Regions from separate parts of the Homo sapiens genome. Here region 2 is linked to region 1. The links are contacts of gene promoters, found by promoter capture Hi-C in blood cells and fetal thymus (Javierre and others, 2016). All regions are on one chromosome and are shown on one strand. The core of a region is centred on a gene start or on the middle of the fragment in contact, and the rest is flanking DNA. Distances in the headings are between cores, read along the strand shown.

Region 1 (4,482 bases), core at 1,636-4,135:
TTGGGGCCAGGATATAAAGTTAATGACAAGGGACTCCCTTCTATTAAAAGGACTATGTGCAAACAGGCATGCCTGGAGGAAGCCAAGGACCACGATAAAGGAAAACAAACACCTTATGATTCATCTAACATAGGCCCGGTTACAATCGCAGGTGTAAAAGGAACTGGGAGCTGGCAGTGAGAGACAACAAACATCAGTGGAACATGGGATGGTGACTCTTTCTGGCTGAGCGCCACACGTTCCTACCAGGAATCTTCTATTAGTCATTTGGGCTGGAGAGTGAGATCCTTCCTCGCTCTCCACCGTCCAGGGTCATGTTTAATGGTGATGTTTGTTCTTTCCAAGGAGAGAAGGCCCATCTAATTGCAGGGCTTTTGTTTTCCTGAATGGACTCAGGAAGGCCATGGCTGAAAACGAGGGTGCTGAGAGGCTGTAAGGAGAAGGGAAGGAGTTGGAGGCTCTGGTGGAGTGAGGAAGAGCAGGGCAGTATCCCATGTCCTCTGATGTTAGGGGTGAGGTCAGGAGGGTGGGTCTCACCTTCTCCTTTCTCTGCCCTGCATCGGTCACCATGGTTTAAAAATCAATGCTATTCCATGAGAGGGCTGCCACTTATCATTTCAGTTCCAACACCTGGAAAGTAAAATTATTGTCTCCCAAATCCACCCAGCACCATAGGCTTGAATAGGGATCATATGCTCTAAGACCATTCATGAAAACAGAGACAACCAAGGAGACAGTCACCCAATGCTGTCCCTTCAGCTTGCATTATTTTCTGACAAGACAGCTCTGCCATCCATGGAAGCCTGTGTGCTCCTCCATCCCTGGATCTTTATGCATCCTTTTCCCCACAAACCCAAACCATCCCTCTTAAAATGAAAAGCTTAGGAATACTCACCCTAGACTGAGTCACGCGTTTCTTGTACAAACTTTAATTAGACTTGATTTTTTAAAAATTTCCCTTGTGGCTTTTAATTATTAGACAGAGCAAATGTCTCTAGTATTAAACTTATATGTCACATAGCCTCTTTATCAATGGCCCTAATACATTTCATGTGCTTTTCAGAAAGATTATATTCTTCCCAGAGCTGTCTGAATGTCTTTTTGAACCCCTCAAGACTGGACACCAAGGAGTATAAATAATCATTTTAAAAAAAATCACATTCCCTCCACAACCTTGAATCTGAAACGTGAATATATGAATAGAAGGGCTCTGGAATAACTATGCAGATTTATGGAGAATATCAACTTAAGTTATATCACGGGATCCAGCTATGCCTTTCTTCATGGAGTTGGGGATTTGTTAAAGTTGAGATATAGTTTGGGGGAAGTGTGATTTATGGTTAAAGTCATCTGAAAATCAATACATTTGAAGATCTCTGACATAAAGGTCCCTTGCAGAGCTAGACGTGATTCTAAAATTGGGAACACAGGAATAAAAATCAAATCTTGAGTAGAAGTAGCTGAAAATTGCAGTGATTCGGGGAAGCTTGGCTTCTAACTCCCCACTGTTTGAAGATGGGCTTGTTTGTTTTTTAAAACAGCCAACATAATTCAGCTGGAGGAGGTACAAAGAATTTTCTATTCCTTGTTTCTGTAGAAATCGATGGACTTTAGCTTGTCTAATTGTCCCCCCTGCCTTTAGTATCTAAAATAAAATAACCCTCGTTGCTTGCATTACTCAACGCATTTCTGCGTCTTGGCGTCTATGGCTAAACGAGTATTAATTAGACAGTCCGCAGAGAGCTGGCTGGGGATAGAAGGGGAGGTGGGGGAGAAGGGCAGGGATCACAGCAGGGTGGACTCGTGGCCCTGATTTGGGATCCTGACAGCAACTTACTAGGTGGCCTGAGGGCTGGGTGCCAGGGGAGGCAGCGGGTTCCAGTAGCATCTGACCTGCATTAGGGACAGGGGCGCGGCGGAGGGGGCGAAGGGGGCGGGGGTGGGGGGAAGGTGGCTGGGGTGAAGCCCAGCTTCGCAGCTAGCTGTGGGCAACAGAGGGAGTAAGGGGGGGCAATGAGGCTGGGGCCAGGCGCCAGCAGCAGCCACGCCCCCCACCTCCCCCGATTTTTAGGGAAAATTCTCCAAAGCTCTCGCATCCTCCTCTGCCTCCTTCCACCCTCCACCCTCCCAGCCTCCACTGAGACCTCTTTAAAACCACCCAGGGGCCGCCGGGGGATGAGGCCGGGGAACGGGCTGGACTGAGGGCGGGGGCTCGGGGGCAGCGGACGGGAAACGCCTCGAAAGCAGCCAGACCCGGCGACTGAAATGAGGCGGAGGAGCTTGGCGAGGGGAGGCGCAGGCTCGGAAAGGCGCGCGAGGCTCCAGGCTCCTTCCCGATCCACCGCTCTCCTCGCTGACCTCCGAGTCACCCCCGGAAGCTCCCGCCACTGCCGGGCGAATAGACCCCCGCGGACCCCCAAGCGCGCGGGGCCGGGGCCCTAGTTCAGGCCCTCGCTGCCCCTTTAAGGGTTCTCGAAACTTTCCCCCCGGTATCAGATGAGCCTCGTCACATCCGTTGGCCGTGGCCGCTGGGGCGCTTTCCGAGGAAATTCGGGACTCGAGTTTCCCGGGGAAGAGGCGCGGCCTGAGCCCGGCGAGGGTGGGGAGGGCAGGCGCAGGTGGACCCCGGCGCCCCCCGAGCCCCGCTGTGACCTTGGCCGCGGGGGAGGGGCTGGGCCGCTGCGGGGCAGTCGCGGCCGCCAGAGGGGGCAGCGGAGAAGAACTTGCCCAACTTGGCGGCGCGGGCTGGGGCGGCTCTGCGCCTCCGCGCCCGCCTCCCCGGCCTCCGCCTTCTCCCCTCCCGCGAGCCTCCTCCCCTCCCGCGAGCCTCCTCCCCTGGGCCCTCCTCCCGTCCTCCCCGCCGCCGCCGGTCCCGGTGCGCGCCCATCCCTGCCCGCAGCCCCGCGCGCCGGCCGAGTCGCTGAGCCGCGGCTGCCGGACGGGACGGGACCGGCTAGGCTGGGCGCGCCCCCCGGGCCCCGCCGTGGGCATGGGCGCACTGGCCCGGGCGCTGCTGCTGCCTCTGCTGGCCCAGTGGCTCCTGCGCGCCGCCCCGGAGCTGGCCCCCGCGCCCTTCACGCTGCCCCTCCGGGTGGCCGCGGCCACGAACCGCGTAGTTGCGCCCACCCCGGGACCCGGGACCCCTGCCGAGCGCCACGCCGACGGCTTGGCGCTCGCCCTGGAGCCTGCCCTGGCGTCCCCCGCGGGCGCCGCCAACTTCTTGGCCATGGTAGACAACCTGCAGGGGGACTCTGGCCGCGGCTACTACCTGGAGATGCTGATCGGGACCCCCCCGCAGAAGGTAGGGACCCCCGGCTGCTGCCGCGGGCTTTTCGGGCTCGTTGGAGGGAGGGGGCTGTCCAGAGACGCCTCCACGCGGCTTAGCGTCGCCCCCAAAGCAGCAGCTGTCCCCGCACAGAAGAGCGGGGAACGCAGAGGGGCTCGGGTGGGCCGGGGAGCGGGGGCGCTCGCTCTTGAGTCGCGGAGGACGGCAGCCCCCGCCCGGGGCGCACTGAGGGGTGTGCGCGAGTGTTTCAGAACTTGTGAGCTCCCCCTCCGCGGGGCTGGGCGGGAGAGGAGACCTGGAACTTGCCGCCTCCAATAACGTGATTTCCTTCTTGCGGGCGACACCTACTTCCAGCGGGAGACGGAGCGGTGGGCCTTGGGCGACGGGCTATTATGGGGAAAATCACCTCGTGTTCATACCCTCCCTCCCCCCCGCCCCCCCCCCACCCCACCACCATGCTGTCTCATTGCTAAAGAGGCTCGTGGCCGGCTTCCAAAGGCGCAGTACCCTTTAAAAAGGATTTATGCATGAGCTCAGCTAAAAGCAACCCGGTTAAGAAGTGGCTCGCTTGCTGCTCTGAGGAAGGAGCAGCGTCTCCCCTGCGCCCGCTTTCCTTTCTCGGAGTTGGTTTGTCAGCTGTGTCCTCGCTCATCCGGCGGCCCTGCCCCTCTGCACGGAGCGATGCATCTACACGCGGGTGTGCAGAGTGTGAAAAGCATTCCAGCTACCGGGAAAAAAACAGGGGCTGAGTGAGGTGTCCGGGGACCAAGTGGTATCCCGATTACAACACAAAAATAAAATCAAACAGCTTTCCTTTTCTCTTACTCTGATGTTCATTTACTAACACTTTTTGTAGCAAGAAACAAATGTTCCCAAGCACAGTGATCTGAAAAAAAAAAAAAAAAAATCCCAATTGATCTGCCCCCTCCTACTTTCAAACTGTCTAATCCAAGTGGGATTTGAAGTCCTTTGCTCAATTGAATGCACTATTTGAAGATAGTTTATTTTTATTTTTAACATTGTCATTTGGGTTTTGATTCAGCTATGATTCCCCCATAAATAGAACATACTCATGACTTTTGTATAATTCTCATTAAATTATTCAAGACTTTAAGAGGAAAGACATGCCATGCTAATTCTTTTAAAAAAGGAAACTGCCGAATAACTTCTGTAGTTGTTTAATTAGTTTAGGGGGA
Region 2 (4,816 bases), core at 884-3,383, 200 kb after region 1:
GTCTTCTCTTTTCTCCTCTTCTCTCACCAGCTGTCTTCTTGGTTTTTCAGTTCCCCTCTCTCAAGACCTGCACTTTCTCTTCAAGTCAAGGTCCACAGCTCCCATGCTCTGCATTTATACTGGGCTGCGGAAGCTCCCACGTGGGGACCAAGCCCTGGAGAGGAACCCACAGTGCAGCGGCTCCTGAAAGCAGAGGCCTGCACCCCTAAGCCTCTTAAGCCCCCCACTTTCATTCCCTCCTGCCTCTGTGCATAGCCCAAGTCCCACCTGTCCATGTGTCACCCGGCTCTTCCGTGTCGTCTCCGTGAGCCTGCAGGGGCACCCAGCCAGCCGACAGGCTCCCGAGACAGTCCACTCACACAGACACACTGTAGCCATTTCTGAAGATTGTGCAGGGGAGACAGATGGTTCACCAGGCACACACCAGACAACCCGAAACCTACATTCCTTACTCAACAGGCCCGTGTCAGAAAATCCTCCCTAAACTGCAATGGGGAGGGGGACTGAGGGAATTCTCATCCCCTACATGTCACCCCACGGCTCACTCCTGCCTCCGACCTTCACACATGTTCACCCCTGCAACTTTTCACCCCTTTATTTTGCAGAGCAATCTGTGCCCAGCTCCTGTCCTCTCAAACTTAATCAGCTCATGATACGCTTAGCAAGACCTGCCCTTCATGAAAATGAGGGTGAGGGTGAGGGTGGCGACAGTTTTAAATATGTTTTAAAAGGAACATGAAATGAAGAATATTGGGCTTCACAAAAGGAACCCTCCTTTCCCTTGTTCTTTCTTCCCATGGAGAGGAAGAAGTTGAGGCTGAGTTATCACCTCCCATCAGCACTCGGTTTTGTTCCTGGACCCCTGACTTCGTCACCAAGGGCAGCTGGCTCCAGCTCTCAGCCTTTGAAGGATATTGTGGCTAGGGGTTCAGAGTCCCAGGCTCCCTCCCAGACAGATGGGTGGAGTGAGGCCACCTGAGATCTCACTTGCTAGGGTGGGTGCCACCAGGCCCACCGAGCTGCTGGGTCCTGGCCAAGCCCTCCTGTACCCCCTGAGAAAGTCTCCGTAGGGCTAGGAGCTGTTTGTGCCAACTTTAGATGGACTCATCTCTCAGTGATCCCATAAAATTGCTGCCTAGCCCTTCTGGTTTCAAGGATTTCACATCAGAAAACGTTTTACGAACCCAGGGCTAGTTCTGAAAACAGGAAGTGCTTTCAGCCCCCATGGGAGGAGGGGGGTGCAGGAGGCCTGTGGACCTGGACCTCTGGGAGCCAGGCTGGAGAACAGGAGCTGAAGGCTGAGCGGCGGCGGGGCCATTCACACAACCATGGTCTTTCCTCCCAGTGAGGAGGGACCCCAGGTGGGGCTGCTGAGCTCAGGAGCCGCTGGCTCTGCTGGAAGATCCGCCCCTCTGAGGCTGCGCGGGGAGGATGCAAGACTGGGCAAGAGCTCATTAGGAAACGCTGAGACAGAGGGTCCTAGTGAAGATTCCACTGCAGAGAGGGCAGTCCAGGTCATCACAGGGTGACATCTGGGGATGAGGCTGGCCGGGGCACGGGGCAGGTTTTTGAGCCCGGCAGTGTAAGCAGTCTCTGTCCCAAGGGAGGAAAGCCGCTGAGAGCTGCTGGGCCAGCAGGTGGGAGTGCTGGGCTGGCCTCAGGGTTTCTGGAAGGGGTATTCCCGAGAAGTGAGGTGCTGCTCTGGGACTCTGGTGCCCCTGGGGCCTTCCTGCAGGGCGCTCTCAGCAGCCACCTTCGGTAGAAGCCAGGGCCACCCTGCATGGGGGATGATGCCGCATCCAGCACAGAGCCTTGCGATCAGTCACTCTCCTCCCTCCACAATAGCGGGGACCTCCCTGCCCGCCGCACCCCTGCCCCCCGCCCCCGCCCCCGCTCCCGCCCCGCCGTGGCTGTGCAGCAAGCAGGGGACAGTCCCATCAGCAAAGTCGGGGAACTTCCAGGAAGCCCGCGTCCCCCTCAGCCTGCCTTTAGCCAGAAAAGATTCCAAGCTCTGCTCTCTACTTTGGAAAGCCAGTGTTTGCATGTGGAGATTGTTTTGCTAGACTCGACGAGGGTAGCAAAGCAACAGGAAGTGTTCCCCAGAGCTCCGCCCACGACTTGCGTGGCCCAAAGCTGGATGGTCGTCCGTCCCACCATGGCGGGTGGGTAAAGGTTCTTTTCCTGGGCTGTGTCATTCCACCCAGAGCAAGGGATAAGCCTGTGATAGCCGTAAATCCGGAACCACTACCAAGGTGAAAGACCTTCAAGTTAATTGTTGGAACCTGCGGCTCTAACACTTCCAGCAAAGCTACTTCTGTGAAAGCTGTGACGAGCAGAGGAAATGGGACAGGAGAGGAGCTGAATCCTGAGATTGTATCGCTAGGAGCCCCCAAAGTACGATGACGGTCCTCGGGCCAGCATGGGGGTGCATTGGCACCATGTAAGGAAAGGGGCCCTCCCGTGGCACCGTTGGAGTGGGGCGGTGTGGGGTTGTTCGGAGAGAAAAGTTTCCCATGAGCTCTGTTTCAGCAAACGGCGATGACCACTTCCGTGGCAACTAAACAGTCTTGCCTTCCTGCACGTGGACATTTTTCTTCATGCATATTTCTCTTGCAAATGGTTCTATTGTTTGTATAACAGTATTTCATGAGCGGAGAAGAGTTGGAAGCAAAAATCTGTTCATGAGAAATGTAAGTATGTGGTAACATTGCCTTCAGTGAAATTGAGAGCAGATCTAAAGGGATGTGAAAAGCATCAGGGTGCTCATATAGGAGGCAGGATCATTTCCCCCAGACCGCGGCCATGCGGGTTGTGTTTTATGGTAGGAGTGATTATGGCAGCCTATGTGTGTCTGGGCATAAGAATACTTATTCTATGGATCTTAAGGTAATTATGTGTTGGAATTATGTGTTGGAAAATGTATGGCGTGGAATTCAGTAGGGGAATGCTCACGATTTGTGTGGTTCCTGGAGTTGGAAATGGGTGGCAGATCCAGCAAGAGGCAAGATTTCCAAATGGACTGCTGAGTCATTCTTAGGGTGGGCTAGGAGAAAATGTGTTTTGGTCTGAAGGAGGGAGGAAGAAGACAAAAACAAGTAAATTAGAAAACGTGGTTGCAGGATTGAAATCTGATCCTGAAAAAGAGAGAATAGCCATGAGTATAATGTTTAAAAATACACACAAAGAAATCCACTGTGGTGGGAGTCACAAGAAGTTCAATCATTATCTGGTCTCGTCATCTCGAGTGAAGCTGTCCACTCCCAAAGCCGACTGCTTGGTCCATAGCTCTTAGTTTTTGCATCTGGAGGCTTTTGTGGTTAGTGTTGGTTTGAGGTCATTTGAGCTGATCCATTGGTCTGGGTTTGTTGCCTGTTTCTACTGACTCTTGAGTACTTGGGTCAACACCTTGGATCTTGACTGCCCTGGCATTTGCTAGGAGGACCTGAAATGGCTCCTTCCAAAGAGGTCTGAAAAGTTTTTGCCTTGAGGTCTCTTCCAGCGGACCCACACCAGGCTGGAGGTCAGAAAAGTCTGGCCGGCATTTCCTCTGGCTGGCATTTCCTTTGGGCACGAGACTTGGTGTGTGAGGCTAATCCTTGACAATGCTTAACTGCGTACATGAAATGGAGCAGAGCCAGGCCTTGCTGGAGTTACTCCTGGTCATGTACAGCATCTGGTTATGATCTCATGGGGTGCTGGACTAAGTGAGCACTCAGAGACGGTCACGCCAATAGCCTATTATATCCTCGACCTAGGAGTTAAGGAGTAATCTTCTGCTTACTCCTTAAGCAGCTCCTTAAGGAGCTGAGGCAGATAAATTGGGTGTGGCAAGCGGGGTGTCTGCCAGGCCCAGGAGCCCCGGCTGTCACCAGTGCATGATGTGACTTTGGGTGAGCCACATCTTCTGCTTACAGATAGAGGCCAAGACCGCACGGCCAATAAAGCTGGTGGCAAAACTCAAAGCCCAGAGAGATGGAGGGTTTTTTATAGTTAGGGAATTTCAGCTTCAGTGTGTGATTGATTTTGTATTTTGCGAACACCGAGGGTGATTCAGACAGTGAAGTGTCTGTGTTAGAAGAAGGACCCTCCAGGACAGTAAGTCTATAATCTTTTGATAGGAAGATAGGTATTGTCCATGCTGAGAATAGAAAGTCTAGCAAGAGGTAGACTTGCTATCATGAACCCATGGCTCTGAATCCTGTCTCACCTTTACAGTCTTGCCTGGGTTATATTGGTTGCAGATGAGATAGGACTCTACCACTTCCTGGGCCAATTCCAGAAAATTTCCTGACCAATATGCATTGCATGTAAAACTTAATTTACCTTTTCCATGATGCAAACAATTATGGAGTAATTTAGCTAGGAAGGCTCATGGCACTCAAGGACAGGTGTTCTGAGATGACCAGATTCCATCTTTATTAAGAAACTATTTTTGAGATTGCCAATATTACTTGTCAGAAGTTTGCATCGATTATTATGAGTCAATTATAAATGGATCCAATTTTCTTTCTGAAAGTTTGGTGGATAGATGTCAGTTACTATTTTAGAACTCTTAATATAGTATTTAAAGCTATTTTTTTTTAACATGAAGTCAGTAAGGACATCGCCCTTGACTTCTGGCATGGCTTCTCAACTAAAAGCTTCTACTTTAGTATCTCATACCTCCTTTGGATATTGGGTAGCTTCTAATAAGTTACTGATCCCTTACTCATTTTTGATGTGAACAATCACAGATATCATAAATCCTCTGTGCTTCCGTAGCATCCCCAAATCATAAGCAGCTCCAAATGCCCATCTTATCTATTCTTGGTATAAA

Evidence for each region. Contacts are between HindIII fragments. The CHiCAGO score rates a contact against its expected background, and 5 or more counts as called.
Region 2: a contact is called between a fragment that was not itself captured here and the fragment with the promoter of BACE2 in region 1, in 1 of 17 cell types (total B cells). The highest score is 5.3, in total B cells.

The regions. Positions count from the first base shown.
Region 1 is chr21:41,165,275-41,169,756 of GRCh38, forward strand. It overlaps BACE2 (beta-secretase 2), which reads left to right and starts at 2,886. Exons shown (of 9, transcript NM_012105.5): 1 at 2,886-3,301. The coding sequence starts at 2,990. MIR3197 (microRNA 3197) reads left to right here and starts at 2,283; the gene lies at 2,283-2,355. RefSeq lists a silencer at 2,445-2,894. The HindIII fragment of the contact is 3,467 bases long and covers 1,485-4,482 here.
Region 2 is chr21:41,367,956-41,372,771 of GRCh38, forward strand. All of the region lies in intron 1 of MX2 (MX dynamin like GTPase 2), which reads left to right. Among named protein-coding and RNA genes, the nearest start is that of MX2, 8.3 kb to the left of the region's middle. RefSeq lists enhancers at 832-1,520, 1,230-1,289, 1,521-2,207, 2,082-2,226, 2,160-2,369 and 2 more, a silencer at 920-969 and a cis regulatory region at 2,154. The HindIII fragment of the contact is 5,010 bases long and covers 1-4,638 here.